Linked DNA regions of Homo sapiens: all the other regions are linked to region 2. The links are contacts of gene promoters, found by promoter capture Hi-C in blood cells and fetal thymus (Javierre and others, 2016). All regions are on one chromosome and are shown on one strand. Each heading gives the region's core, a stretch centred on a gene start or on the middle of the fragment in contact. The rest is flanking DNA. Distances are from core to core; before and after follow the strand shown. Region 1 overlaps TM4SF19 (transmembrane 4 L six family member 19). Region 2 holds the start of SMCO1 (single-pass membrane protein with coiled-coil domains 1). Region 3 overlaps DYNLT2B (dynein light chain Tctex-type 2B).

Region 1 (3,120 bases), core at 327-2,826, 180 kb after region 2:
TGTCTATTGTGTGATGTTGAGGTTAGGGTATGAGTGATTCCCGTCACTCAGGTAGTGAGCGCGGTACCTACAGATAGTTTTTCAGCCCTGGCCCTCCCCCAATGTTTAATTCTTCATGCTGTGAAATATTTCATTATTTATGTGTGATGTAAAGTAATCCCCCCTTAACTGAAGCTTTGCTTTCCAAAGTTTTAGCTATCTGTGGTCAACTGCAGTTCAAAAAACTTACATAAAATATTTTCAATGAGAAAGACCACATTCACATAACTTTCATTACAGTATGTTGTTATAACTGTTCTATTTTATTATTATTGTTGCGAACTTCTTACTATGCCTGATTTATAAATTAAACTTTATTACAGATATGTATGTATAGGAAAAAGCATAGTACAGACAGTCCTCTACTTATAGTGGTTTGACTTCTAAGTTTCCAACTTTACGACAGGTTTCTAGGGACCTAACTCCATCATCAGTGAACTCCTTACCCTTTATGATGGGATTACGGTTTCTACTGAATACTCATTGCTTTTGCACCATCACAAAGTCAAAAGTAAATTGGGACTGGGCGTGGTGGCTTACGCCTGTAATCCCAACATTTTGGGAGGTGGAGGTGAGAGGATCACTTGAGGCCAGGAGTTTGAGATCAGCTTGGGCAACATAGTGAGACCCTGTCTCTATAGAACTAAAACATTAGCCAGGTATGGTGGCGCATGCCTGCGGTCTCAGCTATCCGAGAGACTGAGGTGGGAGGATCACTTGAGCCCAGATCAGGGCTGCAGTGAACAATGATTGTGCTACTGCACTCCAGCCTGGGTGACAGAGCAAGACCCTGTCTCAAAAAAAAAAAAAAAAAAAAAATTGTAAGTTGAACCATTGTGAGTCAGGGACAGTCTACTGTGTTGCCAGCATTAAATGCCTTTTGAACTTAGGATATTTTGACTTACAACGGGTTTATAGGAGTTCGACCCCATCATAAGTGGAGAAGCATCTGAATATACAGAGTTTGGTATGATCTGTGGTTTCAGGTATCCGCTGGAGCTCTTGGAACATATCCCCTGCAGATATGGGGGACTATTGTGTGTGTGTGTGTGTGTACGTACACACATATATACGCACATTATACATTATATGTATATGATATATATGTGTGTGTGCATATATATAGAGCCTCTGATCCATATCTTTTATATATATATATATTTTTTTTCTTCCCTTCCCCTTCCCCTTCCTCTTTCCTTCCTTCCTTTCCTTTCTTCCTTCCTCCCTCCCTCCCTCCCTCTCTCCCTCCTCTCTCTCTCTCTCTTTTGCTCTGTCACCCAGGCTGGAGTGCAGTGGCGTGATCTGGGCTCACTGCCACCTCTGCCTCTCGGGCTCAAGCGATTCTCCTGCCTCAAGCTCCTGAGTAGCTTGGATTACAGGCGCACACCACCACGCAGTTAATTTTTTTTTTTTGAGACCGAATCTCACTCTCTTGCCCAGGCTGGAGTGCACTGGCGTGATCTCAGCCCCCCAGGTTCACGCCATTCTACTGCCTCAGCCTCCCGAGTAGCTGGGACCACAGGCACCCGCCACCATGCCCAGCTAATTTTTTTGTATTTTTAGTAGAGACGGGGTTTCACCATGTTGGCCAGGTTGGTCGGAAACTCCTGACCTCGTGATCCACCCACCTCAGCCTCCCAAAGTGCTGGGGTTACAGGCGTGAGCCACCGTGCCTGGCCTCTATACACATATTTTCTGATTAGGTGCAAAGCAGTGTGTTATAGGCGTGTCAAGAGCCTCAAGTGGCCAAGTGCAGTGGCTCACGCCTGTCATCCTAGCACTTTAGGTGTCTGAAGTGGGAGGGCCCTTGAGCCAAGGAGTTTGAGACCAGCCTGGGCCACATAAGGAGACCTCACCTCTATTACATTTTTTTTTCTTCTGAGACGGAGTTTCACTCTTGTTGTCCAGGCTGGAGTGCAGTGGCGTAATCTCGGCTCACTGCAACCTCCACCTCCCGGGTTCAAGTGATTCTCCTGCCTCAGCCTTCCGAGTAGCTGGGATTACAGGCATGCGCCACCACGCCCGGCTAGTTTTGTATTTTTAGTAGAGATGGGGTTTCGTCATGATGGCCAGGCTGGTCTTGAACTCCTGACCTCAGGTGATCTGCCGGCTTTGGCCTCCCAAAGTGCTGGGATTACAGGCGTGAGCCACTGCACCCGGCTAAAAATAAATTTTTTTCAATAAAAAATAAATAAATAAATTAAATAAATAAATAAATAGCGAGCCTTAAGGGGAGACAGACGTGTAACTGAACTGCACAGTGGGAACAGGCCACTTCCTGGGGATGTCATGACGCTGACTTTTTTCAGATCCACATTGACATGAGTCTGCCCAAATATTACTAGTCCTATTTTAATTCATATATATATGTATATATATATATTTTTTTTTTAGATAGAGCTTCACTCTTGTTTCCTGGGCTGGAGTGCAATGGCACGATCTCTGCTCACTGCAACTTCTGCCTCCTGGGCTCAAGCGATTCTGCTGCCTCAGCCACCCGAGTAGCTGGGATTACAGGTGCCTGCCACCACGTCCAGCAATTTTTTTGTATTTTTTAATAGAGACACGGTTTCACCATGTTGACCAGGCTTATCTCAAACTCCTGACATCAGGCGATCCACCTGCCTTGGCCTCCCAAAGTGCTGGGATTACAGGTGTAAGTCACCGTGCCCGGCCTTAATTCATATTTTTCTAAAAAACAAGAAGTTCACATATCAATGAAAATATAAAAGAGAGGAACATAAGGAGTGGAAGAGGCATTTTATAATTTATCTAGATATGACATTTTAATTGTAATTAGCTTTATTGATATATAGTTAAAATTCAATAAAATTCACCTATTTTAAGTGCAAAGTTTAATGAGTTTTGTCAATATGTACAGTTATGTATTCACCACCAGAATCTAGACACAGAATGCTTCCACCCCTTCAGAAAGCTTCCCATGCCCCATACTAATCCTCTTTCCCATTCTCAGCCCATGGCAACCGCTCATCTGCTCTCCGTTAAAAGTTTTGCCTTTTCTAGAATTTCGTATATATAGAAACATGTGAGTAGTCTTTTGTTTCTGGCTTCTTCCACTTA
Region 2 (2,700 bases), core at 201-2,700:
AACAGCTCACATCTGTCCAAACTCCTTACCAAGCTAGCTAGAAGCATCCCCTCTCTTATAAGCCTTATGTGCTGTCTCCCTGCTAGTATGTTCCTTGAGGACAAGGATTTCGCCTTACTTATCACTATATTACCAGTGCCTGGAATAGTGCTGCTCATCCATTCGTAGGTTTTATACATTCAATTAATATCTATGATGCTCAGTAAATATTGAATAAGTGAATAAAGTATTCAGTGAAAGAACAAATACGTGACATGGCTCTTACCAGTTTAAATGGTGTGGTTATTTTCTTTTTCTTATATGAATCTTTTGCTCAAAACATACCTACTCATTGTTTCCTGAACACATCATTTACTTTGCCACCTCTGTGATTTTGCTCACACAATTTCTCCAGTTCGTAACACCCTTAACACTCTTCTCTGATAATCAAAGACCTTGACCTTTAAGGCCAAGCCAAGTACCACCTTCAGGGTGAATATCTCCCCAAGGACCCAAGATTTCAGTGACTTAGTCTCTCACCTTCTATTATTTTTATGGTCTCTATCTACTTAGCACACATCCCATATACATTTTCTATTTAAGGATATATTCTTTCTTCCCAACTAGATTTTAAATCTCATGAAAACAGCAGTCCTATTTTATTTCCACATTTATATTCAATTCCTAATCTAATATATATATAATTATATAAAATTATATATATATTTTATATACGATATAAATTATATATTATATATAATTATATGTATAATTTTATATATAATTATATATATATATATATATATATATATATATATATATATATATCCTATCCTCTTGCCCGGGCTGGAGTGCAGTGGCATGATCATAGCTCACTGCAGCTTCGAACTCCTGGGCTCAAGCAGTCCTCCCACTTCAGCCTCTTGAGTAGCTGGGACTACAGGCATGCACCACCACTCCTGGCTAATTTTTGTATTTTTTGTGGAGACAGTCTCGCTCTGTGGCCCAGGCTGGTCTTGAATTCCTGGGCTCAAGCAATCCTCCCACCTTGGCTTCCCCAAGTGCTGGGATTACAGGAGTGAGCCACCATACCCAGCCATAACAAGTATTTAGTAGTTTCTAATGATAGTTAGATTTTTTGCTTTGATATCATCATCATAAAAGATCTGGGGCACTCTTCAAACCTAATTTAGGTTGTAATTGAATAATGAAGCAGTTAAAATATGACAGTAATATTTCCATCAAACTTAATCCTATACGTTACGTTAATGTATCTGTATATACATTTACCATAATGTACACAGTCATTAATTATACATGGTTGTTGCTGTATGTTAATGTACTATGGTTCAGTTTTCAAAGGCAAATGTTATAGTGCATTCCAGGACACCTGTGTCCACGAGATAAGTTCTTTGAAACTATATTTGGATCTGCAGGCTATTAAAAGCTTCTTGTACTGAGTGACCTTTCAGGCAGAATGTAGACTGAGCGCTCCTGCTACTGCTGCCTGTTGCTGAGAGGAAGACCGCAGAAAATTCTGGATTCAAACATTTATTGCTTTTTTTGTTTTGCTTTGTTTTTGTTTTCTTTCCTTTTGCCTTCAGAAGATGAACAATGAAACCACAACCCTGATATCCTTGAAGGAGGCAATGAAAAGGTTGCTGAGGGCTATAGGGAGGGAGCAAGCATGGGTCTGCTATTCTGGGAAGATGGGTAAGAGAAGAATGAAGAATAGAAATAAAGAACTGCAGACATGCTCATTAGAATTCTGTCTCTGTGGCCGGTGCGGTGGCTCACACCTGTAATCCCAGCACACTGGGAGGCCGAGGTGGGCGGATCACAGGGTCAAGAGATTGAGACCAGCCTGGCGAACATGGTGAAACCCTGCCTCTACTAAAAATACAAAAATTACCCAGGCATGGTGGCGGGCGCCTGTAGTCCCAGCTACTTGGGAGGCTGAGGCAGGAGAATCACTTGAACCCGGGAGGTGGAGGTTGCAGTGAGCCGAGATCGTGCCACTGCACTCCAGCCTGGCAACAGAGCAAGACTCCGTCCAAAAAAAGAATTCCGTCTCTATTACAGTGGTTTAAGTCTTCCAGGCCCAAACCTATGTAAATTAACAATAAAGAAAAGTCTGCTCCCAGGTGCTGTAACTCCATTGAATGTATGCATATGCTAAATCCTAGATTTACAAAAATAAGTAAAATGTGGTTTCTGCCCTCAAGGAGCTCACAGCCTGTAGGAAAGAGAAAAGTTTGAAAAACATTTACAATTTAATGTGACTGACCTTACAATGGTGATGTTCCTAAAGGTCTATGCGAACATGAAGGGAGGATCAACCAATTTTGCCTTTGACACTAGAAAAAGGAACTCTTCATATAGGGTCATTTAAGCTGGATCTTAAAGTGCAAGTAGGAGCTTATGAGGGAGAAAAATATGGGAAGGCATTCTAGGCTGAGGAAACAGTGCATATAAGCCATATGTAAGCTTGGAACCACATAATGTATTCAAGCAGCAACTAGATGTCTCGTGTAATTGGTAACTAGGATGGGTGAGGGGACTGGTGGAAGACAGGAGCAAAGGGTGAAGGCCCTTGACTTTCCTGCTGAGGAGATCCAGTTTGCCTCTGAGTATATCACTGGGCAAGCCAGGATGACATAAACCATTTGTAATCAGTTGAGTCACAGAATCGGAATTGTGTTTTAGAAGAATGTGTCTGGA
Region 3 (2,970 bases), core at 454-2,953, 220 kb after region 2:
ATATGACATAATTTTTCATGGGTTTGAATTTCTGAATAGCATATTATTTAGTTAGCATATTATTTAAACATTATTTTTAGCCACTTCCTCCATAAATCAGTGTTCTAAAACTCAATCCTGATAATCCTTATTAAAGTAATAATTTATAACTAAAATTTTAAAATCACTTATTTGTTCATTTGAACCAATCACACTTTGCTAAGTTGCAAACAAATGTGGATGGCAGGGATTCCATGAGCAAAGGTCATTTTTTTTTAGTAGTAAAATTTATTACTTTATCTTAAAGCCATTTATTAAAATTAAGCAAAAATAAAGAGGAATCTTTAAAAAGATGTTTCAGGCCAGGCGCGGTGGCTCATGCCTATAATCCCAGCACTTTGGGAGGCCAAGGAGGGCGGATCACCTGAGGTCAGGAGTTCAAGACCAGCCTGGCCAACATGGTGAAAGCCTGTCTCTACTAAAAATATAAAAATTAGCCGAGCATGGTGGCGGGCACCTGTAATCCCAGCTACTCAGGAGGCTGAGGCAGGAGAATCGCTTGAACCCCGGAGGCAGAGGTTGCAGTGAGCTGAGATTGTGCCACTGTATTCCAGCCTGGGTGACACACACACACACATAAAAGAGGTTTCATTGAAGTTATTATTTTATATTTACTCCAGAAAGGATTGCATCCTCTATTCGTCTACTCCCAGGTTGTGAATACATAGAGTCAGAGTTAGAGTAGAACAGAAACTAGATTGAGTAAATTAAGAGAGTGAGGCCAGGTGGGGTGGCTCACGCTTGTAATCTCAGCACTTTGGGAGGCCGAGGCATGTGGATCACTTGAGGTCAAGAGTTTGAGAGCAGCCTGGCCAACATTGTGAAACCTCTTCTCTGCTAAAAACACACACACAAAAAATTAGCCGGGTGTGGTGGTGCACGCCTGTAATCCCAGCTACTTGGGAGGCTGAGGCAGGAGAATTGCTTGAACCTGGTGGCGGAGGTTCCAGTGAGCTGAGATCGCACCACTGCATTCCAGCCTGGGCAGCAGAGCAAGACTCTGTCTCAAAAATTAAAAAAAGAAAAAAGAAAAAAGTAAAAAGAAATAAGAGGGGGATTCCATCTCCAGTTCTGTCACTTTCTAATTGAATGACTTCAGGTAAGTCATTGGATTTTTCTCACATTGTATCAGTGACATTAGGAAGCTGAAGTACATTTTCCCAAAGACTGGCTGTGACTGCCTAAGGATCATCTGGGAAGTTGTTTAAAATATAGACGCTGGGTCCCTATTCAAATAGATTCTGATCAAATAGGCCAGGGGTTAGATCAGTGAATCAGAATATTTAAAAAGTTCCCCATGATTCTGCTGACTGCCAGATATGGACACTGCTTATGTAGATGATTTTAAGGTAGCTTTTAGCTCTAAAATTCTATGGTCTCACCAAGGTTTTATTTTTATTTTTATTATTTTTTGAGACAGAATTTTGCTCTTGTTGCCCAGGATGGAGTGCAATGGCACAATCTCAGCTCACCACAACCTCCACCTCCCGGGTTGAAGTGTCCTGCCTCAGCCTTCCGAGTAGCTGGGATTACAGGCATGCACCACCACACCTGGCTAATTTTGTAATTTTAGTAGAGACAGGGTTTCTCCATGTCGGTTAGGTTGGTCTGGAGCTCCCGACCTCAGGTGATCGGCCCGCCTCGGCCTCCCAGAGTTCTGGGATTATAGGCGTGAGCCACTGCGCCCAGCCCCACCAAAGTTTTATTTTATGCTTAACTACCCTAGGGATCAGGGGCTGGACAGTGGGAAGTACTATGTAAATCTTAATTTATCAGCTATCTTTGGGGGAATAGTCAAGCTAAGAAGATGGTTTTTTTTGCCAGGCACGGTGGCTCATGCCTGTAATCCCAGCACTCTGGGAGGCCGAGGCGGGCGGATCATGAGGTCAAGAGATTGAGACCATCCTGGCCAACATGCTGAAACCCCGTCTCTACTAAAAATACAAAAATTAGCCAGGTGTGGTGTTGGGTGCCTGTAATCCCAGCTACTCGGGAGGCTGAGGCAGGAGAATTGCTTGAACCTGGGAGGCAGAGGTTGCAGTGAGGCGAGATTGTGCCACTGTACTCCAGCCTGGAGACAGAGCGAGACTCTGTCTCAAAAAAAAAAAAAAAAATGCATCTTGTTTGTTTGTTTTGAGACGGAGTCTCACTCTGTCACCTAGGCTGGAGAGTGGTGGTGCCATCACGGCTCACTGCAACCTCTGCCTCCCAGGTTCAAGTAATTCTCCTGCCCCAGCCTCCCGAGTAGCTGGGACTACAGGTGCATGCCACCACGCTCGGCTAATTTTTGTATTTTTTAGTAGAGACAAGGTTTCACTATTTGGTCAGGCTGGTCTCCAACTCCTGACCTCAGGTGATCTGCCTGCTTTGGCCTCCCAAAGTGCTGGGATTACAGGCATGAGCCACTGGGCCTGGCCAAAAAATGCATCTTTAGATGATACAATTCATTCATTCAACAAATAGTTCTGAGCTCCTATTATGTGTCAGCTTCTGCACCTGAGGGGCTAGGGACAAAATGATGAATAAGACAGGCATGGTTTCTGCCTATTAACATCCAGTGGGGGCCACTCAATACTCAAATGAACAAATATGTAATAAAAAACTTTAGGCTGGGTGTGGTGGCTCACGCCTGTAATCCCAGCACTCTGGGAGGCCGAGGCGGGTGGATCACCTGAGGTCAGGAGTTCAAGACCAGCCTGGCCAACATGGTGAAACCCCATCTCTACTAAAAATACAAAAACTAGCCGGGCAAGGTGGCGGGCGCCTGTAGTCCCAGCTACTTGGGAGGCTGAGGCAGGAGAATTGCTTGAACCCAGAGGGCGGAGGTTGCAGTGAGCCAAGATTGTGCCACTGCACTCCAGCCTGGGCGAGAGGGCAAGACTCTGTCTCAAAAAAAAAGCACTTTATTTGGGAGATTCCAGGAAACATTAG

Evidence for each region. The method cuts DNA at HindIII sites, captures the fragments that hold promoters and counts their contacts. A CHiCAGO score of 5 or more calls a contact.
Region 1: a fragment that was not itself captured here is called in contact with the fragment with the promoter of SMCO1 in region 2 in 3 of 17 cell types (M2 macrophages, M0 macrophages and M1 macrophages); the score reaches 7.7 in M2 macrophages.
Region 3: a contact is called between a fragment that was not itself captured here and the fragment with the promoter of SMCO1 in region 2, in 6 of 17 cell types (M2 macrophages, M1 macrophages, M0 macrophages and 3 more). The highest score is 8.2, in M2 macrophages.

Annotation. Positions count from the first base shown.
Region 1 is chr3:196,330,587-196,333,706 of GRCh38, reverse strand. All of the region lies in intron 1 of TM4SF19 (transmembrane 4 L six family member 19), which reads left to right. All of the region lies in intron 1 of TM4SF19-DYNLT2B (TM4SF19-DYNLT2B readthrough (NMD candidate)), which reads left to right. Among named protein-coding and RNA genes, the nearest start is that of TM4SF19, 6.2 kb to the left of the region's middle. The HindIII fragment of the contact is 2,800 bases long and covers 177-2,976 here.
Region 2 is chr3:196,514,096-196,516,795 of GRCh38, reverse strand. It overlaps SMCO1 (single-pass membrane protein with coiled-coil domains 1), which reads left to right and starts at 1,450. Exons shown (of 3, transcript NM_001077657.3): 1 at 1,450-1,636. The coding sequence starts at 1,587. The HindIII fragment of the contact is 1,040 bases long and covers 1,429-2,468 here.
Region 3 is chr3:196,292,830-196,295,799 of GRCh38, reverse strand. All of the region lies in intron 4 of DYNLT2B (dynein light chain Tctex-type 2B), which reads left to right. Among named protein-coding and RNA genes, the nearest start is that of PCYT1A, 6.6 kb to the right of the region's middle. RefSeq lists an enhancer at 2,964-2,970. The HindIII fragment of the contact is 7,362 bases long and covers 1-2,970 here.